Linked DNA regions of Homo sapiens: regions 2 and 3 are each linked to region 1. Evidence: promoter capture Hi-C in human tissues and cell types (Jung and others, 2019). All regions are on one chromosome and are shown on one strand. The core of a region is centred on a gene start or on the middle of the fragment in contact, and the rest is flanking DNA. Distances in the headings are between cores, read along the strand shown.

The links. Contacts are between HindIII fragments. The study calls those that stand out against the background at their distance.
Region 2: a contact is called between a fragment that was not itself captured here and the fragment with the promoter of IBTK in region 1, in 2 of the 25 tissues and cell types used here (lymphoblastoid cells and mesendoderm cells).
Region 3: a contact is called between a fragment that was not itself captured here and the fragment with the promoter of IBTK in region 1, in 2 of the 25 tissues and cell types used here (H1 embryonic stem cells and mesenchymal stem cells).

What each region holds. Positions count from the first base shown.
Region 1 is chr6:82,245,936-82,248,993 of GRCh38, forward strand. It overlaps IBTK (inhibitor of Bruton tyrosine kinase), which reads right to left and starts at 1,809. Exons shown (of 29, transcript NM_015525.4): 1 at 1,627-1,809. RefSeq lists a silencer at 1,442-1,611. The HindIII fragment of the contact is 4,806 bases long and covers 1-3,058 here.
Region 2 is chr6:82,893,940-82,896,997 of GRCh38, forward strand. The region is part of intron 9 of UBE3D (ubiquitin protein ligase E3D); the gene reads right to left. Among named protein-coding and RNA genes, the nearest start is that of UBE3D, 170 kb to the right of the region's middle. The HindIII fragment of the contact is 3,568 bases long and covers 1-3,058 here.
Region 3 is chr6:82,809,835-82,812,892 of GRCh38, forward strand. No RefSeq gene overlaps it. Among named protein-coding and RNA genes, the nearest start is that of UBE3D, 250 kb to the right of the region's middle. The HindIII fragment of the contact is 3,331 bases long and covers 1-3,058 here.

The DNA.
Region 1 (3,058 bases), core at 559-3,058:
GAAAAAACACACAAAAATTATAGGTGAAATTTTGTTTTATACATTATACACAGTGCTCTACATAAATATAATCCTTATTATTGCCCCTGTAAATATGATCACTTTCATTTTCTGATGAGGAGATTCATGTGAAAGTTTAAAAAGCCTACCTAAAATAATACCGACAGAAAAGTGCTCTTGATCCCACCTATTCTATGCTACCAAACTGCTCTCCCAAAAGGCAGTTAGAAAAATTTCAATGCAAGTAGTATAGTGTAGTAGAAAAAAGTACCATGGAATTCAATTCAAAATAATTGAATTCAAAAGCAGTTTGGTAGGGCAGCTGGAGACTCAAGCGATTCTGCCTCAGCCTCCCGAGTAGCTGGGATTACAGGCACACATCACCATGCCTGGCTGATTTTTTTGTATTTTTGGTAGAGACGGGGTTTCACCAAGTTGGCCTCGAACTCCTGACCTCAAGTGATCCGCCCACCTTGGCCTCCCAGACTGCTGGGATTACAGGCATCTTTTTTTTTTTTTTTTTTTTTGAGATGGTGCCACACTCAGTCGCCCAGGATGGAGTGCAGCGGCGCGATCTCGGCTCACTGCAACCTCCACCTCCCGGGTTCAAGCAATTCTCAGCCTCCCCAGTAGCTGGGATTACAGGCGTGAGCCACCGCGCCCGGCCTAAAAAATTTCTTGAAGTAAACTCTGGTTTGACTAAAGCTTCTGCAAATATTTGCAAATGTAATTATTTTTAGAAACCAGTTTTGTCCTCATCTACCTTGCCTCAATTTCTAAAACAAATAAAAGTTAAGGAATTCAAAATACAAAAAGAGAAATGATCAAGAGGGGGCTGGCAAGCCTGTGAATTTACACCACTTTATGGGCACTGAAACACTACTACTCATAAAAGTCATATCCTTTCAGTATTTCTGATAAATTTCAAATGGCCTACTTCGAGGCATAAGTTAAAAGGTGCTACATGAATCTCTGGCTAACACAGTCAAGTTTTATGAACTACGTTGGAAAACAGGAGTCAAGGACGGCCTATGTTACCTAATTCGCAGCTGAACTAAAACTCTTTGAGCCAGACAGCTCTGCCTGTTACAAAAACAAAGGGCCTGTCTTCTCTGTCTCTCTCAACCCTCCACCCTCCAAAAAGAATCAGTTCCTTTTTACATAGCAATCAATGTCCACTTATCAGATTTCACGACCTGCTTCCCCAGAGTCAGTATCCCCAGGGTGGACTCAAACTTGTGACTCCAGGAAGGGGATAAGGAACATGAGCGCCCACAGGAATGGCTTCAAATCCAAGACTCGAAGGAAAGTGACACTACATAACTATCACAACTAGGAATGCAATGTCGCTGGAGGGCGTGTCCAGCAGGACGGGAGCGTAGCGCATCGCCGGGACAGGCCATTCATTAGCTGAGGGGGGCGGTAGGGACCCTGGCCACTCGGCCCTCTCCGCGCCGCCTCGCGCGAAGCCCGGCAGCCTCGGGGCCACAGAGTCCCCTCCCCACGGTCCCCCCGCGCCGCCGTCCGCAGCCACCCGCACCCTCCAGAAGGCGAATACTCTCCCCCTGCCCCCGGGCTGAAGGGAAGCCGCACCGCACGGTCGGGCAGCGCCAAGCCCTCCCTCACCAGTCGCTAGATGAAACTGCGCCGGTGGATTCCGCAGGGTCCACATAGAGCCACAAAGGGACTCATCCTCAGTGAAGGCAATAAGAGAAACCGAACGGCGCCAGAGGGGCCAGTCCCCAGACCCGGGTCAGTTCGGCAGGCGGCTGCAATACAGCCGCTACTACAGGAATCGGGAACGGGGATGTAGAGGAAGGGCCCGAGCGGGCGGTTCCCAGTAATAAGGCGGGCGCTGGTTGGCTGGGGCTCCTGTATGTCTCTTGATGATTGGCTGGTGCCTGCCCAGAAGGTTTCGCGTGGCAGCACCTCTGCCATGGCCTTTTCCCTGGCGCCCCAAAGGAACTTGACCTCGCCGGCCTTGGGGCCGCTGACTCAGGCCAGGGGCGGGGAAAAGAAAAAGGCCGCAGCGGGGAACTCTAGGCCAACAACGGTGATGGGAGTGTCCCTTTCAGGCCAGCCATCTCGTAGTTAGAAACGTCTCTCTAGGTAGCTGGAGACTCGCGGGGGAGGCTAAACCCGAGTGGAGAAGGAGACCTGGCAGGATGCCTTGGACACCCGGTCGCTACGCAGCAGAAGCCAAGTGCATAGGCGTCCTGCACAGAAGAGTTTCCTCCCATGGCCTTAGCAGTGGGGTTACTGCAAAGCCAAAGGTGTAGTCTCCGTAAACCCAGCCTCACCCCTCTCTGGATCTCCATACACCCGGATTATCTGGCAGTCACTCCCTTGGTCAGAAGGCGTCACTGCCCTCTTAGATCACCACCGTAGGACTAGCTGCCGACCCGGGTCACGCCACTCACTGCCTGACACCAGGCTTACACTAGGCTTTTTCCACTTGAACTCTGAATCTAAAGGCCATTTAGAAAGTGGTCAAGTGAAAAATGCTAGGAGGGACAGTAGCCAATAATCAATACTAGGTTACTGAATGGGAAACACACTGCTGCTGAATGCCTAATACGGTAAGCACTCAGTAAATGATTGTTCAAGGAGGTGTAGTGTGACTCAAAACAAACGACACTAAGAATCATGAGTTGGCTGTACAGCTCTGCCACGTTGAGTTTTACAAGCCACTGAGTCGACCTCATCTAATCTCTAAAAGAAAGGAGTTGCGCATGTCTTAATGCCCACTGAGCTCTGCTTGCTCTCTTTTGAAGCCTTTTTTGTGGGAGGGTAGGTTACTAGCCCAAAGCCACACAGCTGCTTAGCGAAAGAGAAAGGGAGACTAGGACCCAGCCCTCCTACTGCCCTTCCCAGCACATAATTGTTTCTTTGCTCTTTATTCTTAATGTCCTTCTACAAAACAAAAACCAGTTTGTAATGTCAAAATTGAGTGGTTTTGAAAATAAGCTTAAGTTGGCCGGGCGCGGTGGCTCACGCCTGTAATCCCAGCAATGTGGGAGGCCGAGGCGGGCGGATCACGAGGTCAGGAGATCGAGAC
Region 2 (3,058 bases), core at 295-2,794, 650 kb after region 1:
CTGAGTAATTCAGAAGGATGTTACCCTTCATACGGTGCTGGTGAGAAAGGCACCTGCTGAGTTTCCATATCAACTTCCTGCTGAGTTTCTCTATCAAGAGAACACCAAATTGGAAGGAGCAGCAAAGAGGAAAGGTTGATTCCTAAACAAAATGTAAACATGGACAATTGATGCAAACCTCAAGAGCTTACTGTGAAGCTCAAATGAGATCATTGTTAGTTCAAGCTGCACCATTTTGTAAGCCTCGCCCCCACCCCCCCAACCATTTCATAGTCCCAGGTCAAAGTGAAACGTTCCATGGGGGTTCGGACCATGAGAAACATCCTGCCCAACCACCTGACTTTCTTATCATACCCTGCCAGGCAAAGGCCCAACTGAAGGAACATTGCTATCATATCTTGCTGGACAAAGGCCCAAGGAACATCCTATGACATCCCACTGGAAAAAGGGCCAAACCGCCTGATCATAGGAACATCTTATCAATATCCTGCCGGGCGGTAAGCCATACTGCCCAGACCCCTCCCACCCATACCTATAAGTACCCCAGCCTGTAAGCAGCGGTGGGCTCTGGCTGGCATTAACTGGTCCCCCACCTCTGCAGGTCTTGTGCTGCACATAAAACCTGCATTTCTGTAGAGCCGCCAACTCCCTCTGTCTTTAACCCTCACCTTCCCTTCAAAACTTAATAATAATGATTAGGAAAATCCATGTGTTTCCCCTGTCTCTCAGCTGACAAGAGATATTAGAAGCCTGTGAATATACCAGATGAGAAGAGAGGCCAGTAGAGCCTGTTATAATAGACAGAGGAAGGAAGACCAGAAGTCATTGAGTCTGACTTAGGGCTCACTGTGGGCAGCATCCCTGGCAGGCGACATTCTGCTTCTACATAGACAGTTTACAGGGACAGGAAGCTCACAACTGTACAAAGAAGACAATGACGCTGCTTATATTCAAACATGAAGACGATGGAAGAAAACCATTTATCTCTTTTGTAATTCTGAAAATTGCTATGTCATGGCATATTCCAACCAGGAAATACTTAGCATAAGGATAACATTGATAAATGACATTACGAAAATGGTTAAGAGGCCGGCACAGTGGCTCACAGTGGCCTGTAATCCCAGCACTTTGCGAGGCCAAGGCAGGCAGATGGCTTGAGGTTAGGAGTTTGAGAACAGCCTGCCAATATGGTAAAACCCTGTCTCTACTAAGAATACAAAAATTAGCCAGGCATGGTGGCAGGTACCTGTAATCCCTGCTACTTGGGAGGCTGAGGCATGAGAATCACTTGAACCCATATGGTAGAGGTTGCAGTGAGCCGAGATCACGCTACTGCACTCCAGTCTGGCTGACAGACGGAGAGTCTGTCTCAAAAAGAAGAAAAAAAGAAAATGGTTAAGAATTTTAGCTATACAGAATAGTGATTTTCAACTTGAGGTGATTTTGTGTACTGACGGGCGTTTGGCAGTATCTGGAGACATTTTCGGTTGTCAACGTAACTGGGAGGGGGTGCTACTGGCATCCAGTGGACAGAGGCCAGGGACGTTCTCCTACAATGTAGAGAGCCCCTAAAACAAAGAATTATCAGCTAGCCCCATTCAGCCTTTCCTCACCCACAAAATGGGAATTCTAACAGGATGTACATGAAATTTGTAAAACACTTTATTAAGCCTACTTTGATTTTTTTCATCCACAGCACAGTCCTATGGTTTAGTAAAGCAGGCATTTGAATCTTTGTTTTACATATGAAGAAACAGAAGCTCAGAAAACTTATGAAACTTGCTCAGATAGCAAAGCTCTTAGGTGACAATGGTGGGCTTAGAAAGAAATTGATTTCTAATCCATGCTTTTCCCACTATAACTTTACAGATGAATGACAGAAAACTACAGAGGCTTAGAGACTTCCAATCTTTGGTATTGCCTCAACTATCAAAAGATTTCTTTTGCATGCCTGCGAATATGAACTCAAGATGAGGAACAACTACAAAAGAGGCTAAGCTGATTAAATTAAATAATGCAAAATGGACCTTCCCAATGAAAAAGAAAAAGTTTAAAATTTGGCTTAATGTCTTCTTTTCATCTGGTTTTTATAGTTTCATTTGCCGAGCACATTATGTATTTTTAAAGACAACATGAAACTGCAATCATCCTTGGGAACAGGTACTGTACAATGCATTTTATTCCTTATATTTAAAAGACTGTGAGTTAACATATTTCAAACGCTGATTTTGTGTTCCCTACCATTTATCCATGACAAGAAAAATTACTTCCCCTAACTGCCATTTATTTTAAGAGAGGATAATTTTATTTTGTTCCACTACACTGAGAAAGATCTCTGTATTTCATGTTTTTCATTTTATTCCCCAAAGTAAAAGTTTTAAAGCTTCTCAGAGCATATGACTATAGCTGCAGCTTAAGGTTTTGCTGGTTGTTATATTTCTGGAATATAGTTACAACGTATAAATAATTATTTTAAAAAACAAAAGACAACCTTTCCTCTCGGTTATAAGATCTGATTTAGTTCTGTACACCTGAATAGTGACACTTGGAAATGGAGAGAGGGAGAGGATGTTAAGATGTCTAAAAATGATGTCTCTGCTTTGAGTAATCTCTAAAAACAATCTTCTTAAACCACAATAAACATGGCCAGGTTGATGTATCATTGACCAAATGTAAGTTTGGGATGCATTAATACATTTGTGTGACACGTTAAACATTTTTTAATGTTATTTTACCCTAGATAACAAATTTATAATAACTGATTTCTCAACATTGATTTAGAACTTTTTATCCTCTGTTTTGTCTTTTCTTTTTTTTTTTGAGAGAGAGTCTTGCTCTGTTGCCCAGGCTGGAGTAGAGTGGCCTGATCTTGGCTCACGGCAACCTCTGCCTCCCGGGTTCAAGCAATTCTCCTGCCTCAGCCTACTGAGTAGCTGGGATTACAGGCGCATGCCACCATGCCGGCTAATTTTTGTATTTTTAGTAGAGATGGGGTTTCACCATGTTGGTCAGGCTGGTCTCGAACTCCTGACCTTGTGATCCACCCGCCCCGGCCTCC
Region 3 (3,058 bases), core at 347-2,846, 560 kb after region 1:
AGTCCCATTGAGATGAACCAGGTACTTCATTTGGAAATGCAGAAATCACCTGCCTTCTGCGTTGATCTCACTGGGAGCTGCAGACTGGAGCTGTTCCTATTCGGCCATCTTGCCAGGTATCTCTTTTTTTTTTTTTTTTTTTTTTTTTTTTTGAGACGGAGTTTCACTCTTGTCACCCAGGCTGGAGTGCAATGTCATGATCTTGGCTCACTGCAACCTCTGCCTCCCGGGTTCAAGCAATTCTCCTTCCTCAGCCTCCTGAGTAGCTGGGATTACAGGTGCCCATCACCACGTCCAGTTAATTTTTTTGTATTTTTAGTAGAGACGGGGTTTCGCCATGTTGGCCAGGCTGGTCTCAAACTCCTGACCTCAGGTGATCCACCTGCCTTGGCCTTCCAAAATCCTGGGATTACAGGCGTGAGCCACCATGCCCAGCCAAGAATTTTTATTTGATACATAAACACATGGTATCTTTGGTAAAGTAATACAAGAATAATATTTCAGGATTTCCTTTCTCCATAAATGTTTGTACCTAGCTTTAGCAGTTGTAACACTACTGAGGTTTTTTATGGCTTTTTTAAAACATTGGTTGAGATGGAACTATGGGTGCTGATTTTAATTTTCATATGACCAAATAAAGATGCATGTGACCCCAGGAGGTTTCTTCTAGGACAGCAGTCCCCATATTTTTTTGTCCTATGGTTCCTTTTCATCCTTAAAATTTCTGAGAATCCAATTTGCTTTTGTTTATATGGGTTATTTCTATTGATACTCTTTTAAAAACTAAAACTGAGAGAACTTAAAAATATTAGTTCACTTTAAAATAACAAAGCTTTACATTTTATCATAAATACTTTAGAAAAATTAAGTTTGTTTTAAAAAATAAAATTAATAAAAAGAGTTGCATTTTAAAAATATTTTTGAAGATCTTTTTTGAGCCTGCCTTAATAGAAGACAGCTAGGATGTCATATCCGTTTCAGCATGTACATTGTTGTGATATGTGGTATTAGTTAAAGCATATAAAGAAAATCTGGCATCTCAATATCTATGATCTAGAAAAGGAAGAGTATTTTAATATTCTTCCAGATAATTGTGGCTATCCCTCTTTTACACTACAGCAAAACTCAACAAGTGGTCCTTTCTGAAAGGTTAACTGTAATACGGAATAAGAAACCATATCAATGAACTTTTATTTTCTGTTACATTAAAATCCACTGTTCTTTCTTACTCTTTGAATGGATCTTTTACCCAGGCATAATTTTGTAACATTTGGACTATCTTGATTCCCTGAGTTACGGAGATCTCCCAAATGTTGGTGCATTTCATTATGTAATATCAAAAACACATTCATTAATATCCCCACCATTCTCATCAGAAAAGTCTTTATGTATTGGAAAGTTATGAAGTTCATGGTGGCAAATACAAATTTTCCAAAACTCAAATTGTCACTTGCAAGCTCAAACTTTATCACTGGCAACAAATGCTATCAGTGTTCCTTAAAGTGACAGAAGCAATTTGTTCATTAAAAAAAAAAAAAATTAGCCAAGTAGTCATCTCTTAATACCAACAGTTTGTTCATTGGTCATTCTTTCAGCTGAAAATGGTGTTCCAAGAAAAACATGGTTAGTTCAACTCCACAAATCCTTTTCCTCAAGATAACCATCATAACTCACATGCAGTAGAAGTGTTTTCTATGCATACTTTCCACTTAGTCAAACAGGATTAAAAACATATATGCTCAATAGCCAAGATTTAGCAACAATAATTTATACTATTCTATTGAAGATCCTATCAAGTAAAGCTGGCCTTTTGTTTTTTAAACTGCAAGTGTGTGGCAATGACAATTAATGCAGTTTGAAACCACTTCCTTAATTTTTCCCAAGGCACCAGCTATGTTGCCTACCATTAATTTTGTACTACCATTATTATTATTATTATTATTTGAGATGGAGTCTCGCTCTGTCACCCAGACTGAAGTGCAGTGGTGCAATCTCTGCTCATTGCAACCTCCGCCTCCTGGGTTCAAGAGATTCTCCTGTCTCAGCTTCCTGAGTAGCTGGGACTACAGGCACGCACCACCACACCTGACTAATTTTTGTATTTTTAGTAGAGATGGGGTTGCACCATGTTGGCCAGGCTGGTCTCAAACTCCTGACCTCAAGTGATCTGCCCACCTCAGCCTCCCAGAGTGCTAGGATTACAGGCATGAGCCTTCGCCCTGCCTGCACTGCCATTATTTGACCACAGAAAGGGTTTATATTCATGTTTTTCTTTTTTCTTTTCTCTCTTTTTTTTTTTTTTTGAGACAGAGTCTTGCTCTGTCACCCAAAATGACTACTATCTTCTGCAATAGTGCCTTATGTAACATATCTGGGAAACACTGTATTAAATACCCTCTTTAGTCCTTTCTACTTCAACATCCAATGAAAATTTATGGTTGCATCTATCTGCCATATTATCTCTTTGAACTGACATAACTTTAGGGAATGGAGAAATTTTACCAATTTTTATTAAGCTTCAATATTCTTTTCTATGATTTGTTAATCAAGTTTTTATTTACATCTGCAGTGTCTAACACAGTGCCTGGAACAGGACATGTGTTTTGAAAATGTTTACTGCTTTATATCTTATCACTCTTAAAAGAGAATTGGAGGCACACTTTTGCAAAAACACACACAATATGACAAATGCATTCTAAAACTCCAATCAAACAAAAAGGTACAGCATGAACAATTATAACTGGGTTGTAAATTTGACCCCAAGCTTCCTGAAGTCCAAAGAAACATGAAATTTCAATCAGTCATTATAGAAAAGCCACATTATTGCCCGGGCGTGGTGGCTTATGCCTGTAATCCCAGCACTTTGGGAGGCCAAGGCAGGTGGATTACAAGGTCAGGAGTTTGAGACCAGCCCGGCCAGCATGGTGAAACCCCGTCTCTACTAAAAATACAATAAACTAGCTGGGCATGGTGGCACGTACCTGTAGTCCCAGCTACTCAGGAGGCTGAGGCAGGAGAATTGCTTAAACCTGGCAGGTAGAAGTTGCAGTGAGCTGAG